2 separate regions of the Homo sapiens genome follow, and region 1 is linked to region 2. The links are contacts of gene promoters, found by promoter capture Hi-C in blood cells and fetal thymus (Javierre and others, 2016). All regions are on one chromosome and are shown on one strand. Each heading gives the region's core, a stretch centred on a gene start or on the middle of the fragment in contact. The rest is flanking DNA. Distances are from core to core; before and after follow the strand shown. Region 1 holds the start of CTSK (cathepsin K). Region 2 holds the start of ADAMTSL4 (ADAMTS like 4).

The links. The method cuts DNA at HindIII sites, captures the fragments that hold promoters and counts their contacts. A CHiCAGO score of 5 or more calls a contact.
Region 1: a fragment that was not itself captured here is called in contact with the fragment with the promoter of ADAMTSL4 in region 2 in 4 of 17 cell types (endothelial precursors, megakaryocytes, erythroblasts and 1 more); the score reaches 12.1 in endothelial precursors.

Annotation. Positions count from the first base shown.
Region 1 is chr1:150,807,352-150,810,913 of GRCh38, forward strand. CTSK (cathepsin K) reads right to left here and starts at 909. Exons shown (of 8, transcript NM_000396.4): 1 at 863-909. It overlaps ARNT (aryl hydrocarbon receptor nuclear translocator), which reads right to left. Exons shown (of 22, transcript NM_001668.4): 22 at 2,362-3,562. The HindIII fragment of the contact is 1,367 bases long and covers 1,443-2,809 here.
Region 2 is chr1:150,548,061-150,551,726 of GRCh38, forward strand. It overlaps ADAMTSL4 (ADAMTS like 4), which reads left to right and starts at 1,348. Exons shown (of 19, transcript NM_019032.6): 1 at 1,348-1,439; 2 at 1,762-1,835. It overlaps LOC124904417, which reads left to right and starts at 2,230. Exons shown (of 1, transcript XM_047438226.1): 1 at 2,230-3,290. The coding sequence starts at 2,230. The coding sequence ends at 3,000. ADAMTSL4-AS2 (ADAMTSL4 antisense RNA 2) reads right to left here. Exons shown (of 6, transcript NR_187269.1): 6 at 504-690. RefSeq lists silencers at 533-827, 759-908, 1,079-1,218 and an enhancer at 2,554-3,243. The HindIII fragment of the contact is 42,411 bases long and covers 1-3,666 here.

The sequences.
Region 1 (3,562 bases), core at 876-3,375, 260 kb after region 2:
GAGGACAAGGGAAAATAGGACAATGTTTCCTGTTTTCTGAGACATTGTATATCTCCTCATTCTCCTTATGCATTTCTTCTTCCTTTTTCTCTCCCTTCCCTCCTTAGGCAGGAAACTGCCCTAATCTTAACCAGATGCTGCGGGCAAGGTTTTTTATTTTTCCCCTAACAACAAAAACCCACTGTGGCTGCCGCAAAGGACAAGAAGCCTCAGATCCAAGGTTTGTTAGAAGAATGTTCAGACTGAAAAGCAATGTTCTATGATGATGAAATTCACAGCTTTTCATAAGTTTACTCTAGTTAGCTTCACTCATTTCTTGCATTGGCTTTCTTAATTACAAATCCTCCATTTTAAGAACAATTTGCAGCCTGCAGCATGACATATGGCTTACACAATTGCTTATAGTCCATTTACATGTAATTTTGCAAACTGGCAAAATGTCCAGTAGGACATTTAAAAACTAGAGTGTTAAGGGCTTTGAGATGTCTCAGTGAACAGGAAGCACTGAGCTACTACCTCCCCATACCACTCTCCTCCTCCTCACTAAGGAGTTAACCGTTTTGATCCTTGTTGGCCAAAGTAGAAAACACTGCAGAAAGGCCACTCTTGAAGGATGGGGAAATGATTCCCTATATACTTTGCTTTTACTAACAATCATGTATGTATATATATAAATCATACAAGGAATTCTACAGATTTCCAGGCAGATTTTATTTAGCCAGGGAATGACCTAAGAAGTGCATCTCTGTTTTCATCTGCAGAGGCTAAAAGTTTATTGTGATCCTCAAGTCACTACATCCCTAATACTCAGAGAATTGACAGGAATGAAAAGCTAAAAGATCTAGGAAGTTGCAAACGTTACCTGCTGATGGAAATCTGTTGTCTGGCTTCGTTTCGGCAGCAAAGTGTGGGCACACCATCAGGGGTGCTAGATTTATTCCATCGGGATTGCGGAAGTCAGCTCCAGTGATCGGCTGGAAAATTTGGGTAAGAGGAGGAGGCGGGGATAGAAATGCTGAGAGAAGGAAGGGTAGGGAGGAGGGAAGGAGGCAGTGGATTTGCAGTGTTTCTGTGTGTATGCAGCATGTGTGCCAGGGTAGGGAATTACTAGCTATTTAGTCTCACAAGACTGTCTTTGGTGGCAAATAACAAGACCTCAATATCTATTGACTCAAATAGGAGCTTACTTTCTCTTTTGGTGAGTAAAAGGAAGGACACAGCCCTAGTCTCTCCCATCCTTCTTCTTCAATATCTTTATTTTAATATTGGGGGATTATATCTTTTCCTACCCCTTTCCTGTTAGGATTTACCTCTCCAACATTGAAACCTATTTTCATATTTGTGTCTGACTCTCACCTCTGGGATGCGGTAATGAACATAAAAGGCTATAAAAGAATAATGTAATGGAAGCCATAGGCTCCAGAATTCTTTGTATTTTTATAAGCTTGTTGGTTGCAAGTTGTCATTACTTCCAGGCAGAATAGTTTTCCCAGCCTAATGTGGTTTTGCTGAAGGAGGATATGCCCAGAAAGTCCAGATGAAACTGTCTTTAAAAGTAACCAAAAACAGCAGTCCTGGTTATTTATGACAGCACTTGAATCAATGCCGTAAGTTCTGATGGACTCACATGTGACTCTGTTGCTAAAACTCTCAGGTGGTGGGATGCCCGATAAACATCATCTGTCTCAATTAAAATCCCCAATCTAGGACAAGTCACATGAGCTTCTCCAAATGCTTCCCCAACATCCAAGCATGTGACAGATCATAAGAATCTAGCTGATTCCTCAAACCACACCCCAAACTTCATTTTCTTCCATAAACAGATGTGGGGAAGGAGAAAAAAAGGCTTCTTGGAATAGAAAGGATAATAAATGGGATCTGTAATAGACTCAGTTTCTAGCTGGATTCCATGCATAAACCCTCAAAAATACAGGCTTATGCCTCTGGATTTTAAGAGCTGCTAACAGGCTAGGCGCAGTGGTTCACGCCTGTAATCCCAGGCCTTTGGGAGGCCAAAGCATGTGGATCACCTAAGGTCAGGAGTTCGAGACTAGCCTGGCCAACATATAGTGAAACCCCATCTCTACTAAAAAAAAAAAACACAAAAATTAGCTGGGCATGGTGGCACACACCTGTAGTGCCAGCTACTTGGGAAGCTGAGGCAGGAGAATTGCTTGAACCCAAGGGGCAGAGGTTGCAGTGAGCCAAGATCGTGCCACTGCACTCCAGCCTGGGTAACAGAGCGAGACTCCATCTCTCACACACACACACACACACACACACAAAAAAAAAAAAAAAAAAAAAAGTTGCTAATGAACCAACATAGTCTCCTAGAGGGAAACCAGGTCCAGACTTGAACAGTTTAAATTTCACTCATTTTAATCCAGAAAAGGACATACTGGGGGAAGGCATCCAGATGTGCCCTAGTGGTTTTCAAGTCCCGACTCTTCCCCTCTCTCCCAAGAACCCAGGCAACGCCCACCCCAAAACCCCCACCTCATGGTCAGAGCATTCCTGCTGATGTTACTCAGAATGTGTCAGGATCAGGAGGACAAGTGAGGGGGGAGGCGTGCAATGTGATCAGAACCCTATGATTTCTGATTCCTGAAATTAAAGACACAATGTGCCTTATGTTTGTATGTCTGGAGCTTAAACTATAGATTCCTCTGGTTGTGGGTGCCTGTTGTTTATGAACTGGAAAGGAATGATAAAGCCGCAATCAAGATCACACAACACAAGAAATTTTACAAAAGGAAAAAATATTTTGTTTGAAAATCTTTGCTACATGTCATTATTTTTGCCACTGTAAAGCTTAGCACAGATGCCAGCAATACAGAAATGGCCAACAAGAAAACAAAACAGTCAAAAATAAAACCCTGAAGGAAAAGCAAAAACAAAACCCCCAGAGCATCTTCTCGCTATCCTCCCCTTCCCCAAAAGCCCTATAATAACTGTACAATATTATAGTCCTGATCACATTTAAAAAGTCGATTATTAAAAAACAAGGGTTCCATTGGAAACTCAACTTTTTGGTTTCGTAAATTGTGATATAAATATATATGTATACTGTAAGTGTGCACATAGAATAAAAAAATAAACTGTCTCCTTTTTTACTCCACTACCTGGCACCAGACTGGAGACATAAGGAAGGGAAACTCAGCAAATGGACATTCCTTTGGCCTCTTCAAGGCCACCCTTGCTCCTCAGTCCCCTATGACTACATTTAATATATCTTCTCATTAATTCAGTCTTGCACTTTAGCTACTGGCCAAAGCCAATTTAAAAAAAAAAAAAAAAAAGCTGGTATCTACGACTGTTACCTGAGGAAGGTAAAGGGTGAGGGTAGTAACCTGTATCCGCATTTATATGGCTATTGTTAATTACCAAGTGACCCTGTTGAGATGGGTGTCCAGGCCCCATCTATCATACGGAATTATGATACTTGCACTCTAAAGCAAAACCCAATCTCAAGATTGGAGGGAGCAAAGAGGAAAAACCTCTTAGGGCCAGAGAGACTTAAATCTCAGTTGCTTGCTAAACTGGGTATTTTGAGTATGGGATG
Region 2 (3,666 bases), core at 98-2,597:
AAAACTAATAGATGGATTGCTCTTGTGGTTAAAAAAATTCACAAAAATAACATTACATAGCTGGGTGCGGTGGCTCACGCCTGTAATCCCAGCACTTTGGGAGGCCGAGGCGGACGGATCACGAGGTCAGGAGATCGAGACCATTCTGGCTAACACGATGAAACCCCGTCTCTACTAAAAATACAAAAAATTAGCCGGGCGTGGTGGCAGACGCCTGTAGTCCCAGCTACTCAGGAGGCTAGGGCAGGAGAATGGCGTGAACCTGGGAGGCGGAGCTTGCAGTGAGCCAAGATAGCACCACTGCACTCCAGCCTGGACGACAGAGTGAGACTCCGTCTCAAAAAAAATAAATAAATAATAATATAATAATAATAAACATAACGCAGAGTAAAAAGCAAAAGCCTTTTTCAGTCCTCCCCCAACCCTGCATCCCTCCCCAGATGTCACCAATACTACTGAGTTTGGGGTGCATTCTTCCATGTATAAATGCATAAAGAGACATATCCAAGCCCATCATATATATTAGATTAGTCCCATTTTGCAGATGAGCAAACTGCACCACACAGGGGTGGAAGTATTCGTCGAAGACCACATAGCTGGCAAGAGCTGGAGCTGAGGTTCAAATCCAGATCAGTCTGACTCAGAAGTCAGCACGCTGTCCTTTCGCTGAGTCCCGAGTGTAAAACCTTACTGAGGAAAAAAACCGAAGCTCATAGAAGTCCCAGCAATCTGAACCACCACTGCCCAACACGGGAGAGGCAGGAGTGACTGAGTTTGCAGGGGAGGCTGCGTGGAGGGGAGAGCCTGGACCCACGCGGATCGGGGGCCGCGGGTACCTCCGTCCAGGGCGCTTCCCTCCCGGACCAGCGGCTCTCCCAGGCCGCCTCGCTCCAGGCGCCCCTGGAGGCTGCCCCGCCTGTGCCGCGCCGCGCCGCGCCGTGTTCGCACCGCTCACCCGAGCGGCTCGGAGGCCCGGGTTGCTTAAGTCCCTAGTCTCAGCCGGGCACGAGGACAGCGCCCGGGAGCGACTGCAGCCTCTGACCCCGGCTGGGCCAGCCCGGGCTGCTTAAGTCCCTAGTCTCGGCCGGGCACGAGGACAGCGCCCGGGAGCGACTGCAGCCTCCGACCCCGGCTGGGCCAGCCCGGGCTTCAGCTCACGCAGCCGTCGGGGGGCGCCCGGCGCGCAGCCCGGGGTGGGTGGTCCTGGCGAGTGGGGCTGCGAGGCAGACCGGCCCCACCCCGGGGCCGCCGAGGGGCGCGGGCTGGGGCGCGTGGCGGGCGGGGCTGGGCGGGGGCGGGCGCGAGGGCGGAGTTGCGGCCGAGGCGGCCGTGACCGGAGCGCGGCTCAGGGGCCCCAGTGGCCGCCGCGGAGCGAGGTTGCCTGGAGAGAGCGCCTGGGCGCAGAAGGGTTAACGGGCCACCGGGGGCTCGCAGAGCAGGTAGAGACCTCCCCGGGACCCCGGCCCCGGCCGCCCCTCTCCCGGGTCCCGTTAGACCGCCCGCCCCGCGCGCCCGCGTCGTCCCCTCTCCCTGCGCTGTGCGGTCGCGACCCCGCCACGACCCCGGACCCAGCTCCGGTGGCCTCGGACAATCTTCCAGCCCCTGGGGTCGAATTCCTGGGGAGGGAGTCTGATCCCGTGGAACTCTGGCCCCATCACCCGGGCGGGGAGTGAACCAAAATTCCTCCTAAGTCACATAGTAAAGTTGGAAAACAGACCCATGACCTCCCCGCGCGGCCGGTGCCTCCTGCCCTCTCTCTAGGAGGGTGCTCTCGGACGGTGTGTCCCCCACTGCACTCCTGAACTTGGAGGACAGGGTCGCCGCGAGGGACGCAGGTGGGTGCCCTTGATCCAGCTCAGCCCGATGGCAGAAGAGGTTGACAAAAAAGAAAGACACCTGTTGGGGTGGCCTGCCAGACCCAGGAGTGGAGGGCTCTGAGGGCCCGGGAATTCGGACTCAGGACAGGGATTCTCCATGGCTAGGCCCAGAAACACAGGGTCCAACCACTCTCCAGCAGGGAGACCTGGGGGTGAAGGGGTGAGCCCTGCGCAGGTCTCTGTTCCTTGGTCTTCACTGGGCAGTGTGGAGAGGTGTGGCCAGGAGGAGCCCGCGTTTGTCCAGACCAGGGTCTACTCTGGCACCAGAGTGACCACCTCTGACCTCTCCTTTCCTCGTCCTGGGCCGGGAACGACACCAAATGAGGGACATGGAAAGGGGTGAGAAGCATAAATGTGCGTGTGTTTCTGCAGAGGAGGGGGCATGGGCCCCTGCCGGGCTGCGCAGGGGAGGGTGGGGTGGGACTTTTCCAGAGAGGGAGCCAGGCCTGGCCCGGGCCCCGGGAGCTCACGTCACCCCCACCCCTCACTTCTCCAGGGAACTGCCAAAGCCAAACCCAGCTCGGGATGGGATTATGTGTACTGGGTAGACCCGTGGAGAGGGGCTGCGAGAAGAGATCTCGGTGGCAGAGAGAAGCAGAGGCAGAGAGGGCATGAAGAGGGGTCGGCATCAGAGAAGGGGCAGGCAGTGACTATCACCCCATTTCTTCTTCCCTCAGCTGGAGTAACAAGAGTCAGGCAGAGCCTGAAGACTTGGGTGGAACATGGGCCCTTCTCTGGAGATCCTGGCCTCCCCCGTTCAGTCAGGGTGGAGTTGCTGACCTTAGTGGCCGGCCCAGCCAGGGGAAGGAGTGGCCATCGGCAACCCCCACCCCAACCCCAATCCCTGAGGCGCCCGCTCTGGCTCAGCCACTCTGACCCCTCCCTCAAATTCCGAACCCTAGGTCTCAGGGAGGGCAGTGGGGCTGAGTGTCTGCCCCCAGGCACATTCCTACCCTTCTCTTGGTCATTTTCTGCCCCAGAGCTGGCCCACCTCAGCAATGCGAGGGCTCCCTGGATTCCTCTCCCGGGTGCCTTTCAGATCCAACAGAAACAGATTTTTTTTTTCCTGGAAAGCAGAACTAAGAGTGGGATGAGGAGCAGGGGTGGGAAGGACTCAAAGTGAGAAGAAGGGGGCAAAGAGAGTCAGGCTTGGTGGCTGGGGTGGCTTCCAAGCCTCACTTCTCCAGTGTTCAAAGCTGAACTTCAGATGGACTTCCCGGCTCTTCAGAATGAGAGGCCTGTGGCTGGGGCATGAGGCAGCCCCGGCTGCACCTCTCCTTCCCGCTTCCCCAGCTGGTAGAGACGCACAGGAAACAAGCCCTCACTGAACCAACTCCAGATGCTGGCACCCAGAGTGGGTGTTACATTGCCGGCTTCTTCTCTAGAGATTAAACCGTCAACCCATTTAGCTTATCCCTTGGCCAAAAAGTGTATGAGATGTGCCTGGATGTTCCCTAAAGAGCTTATCTAAGAAGGGAAGAGAAAGCCGGGAGGCAAGTAGGACAGAGAGATGACTGGGGAAGGTCTTGTGTCTGGAAGACCCAAGGAAGGGGCTTCTGGTGGGTCCTCAGAGAGAGTGTCTGGCGCATCCTCAGTGGAGCCTTCCTCCTCTACTTTCTAGGCACCTCTGGGAGGGCAGGAGTGGGAGCAGATGACAACCATTTTAGAAGGAGCCCTCTGGCTGGGTGCGGTGGCTCACACCTGTCATCCCAGCACTTTGGGAGGCCAAGGCAGGAGAAGCGCTTGAGGCCTGGAGTTCAAGACCAGCCTGTGCAATTTAGCTGGATCC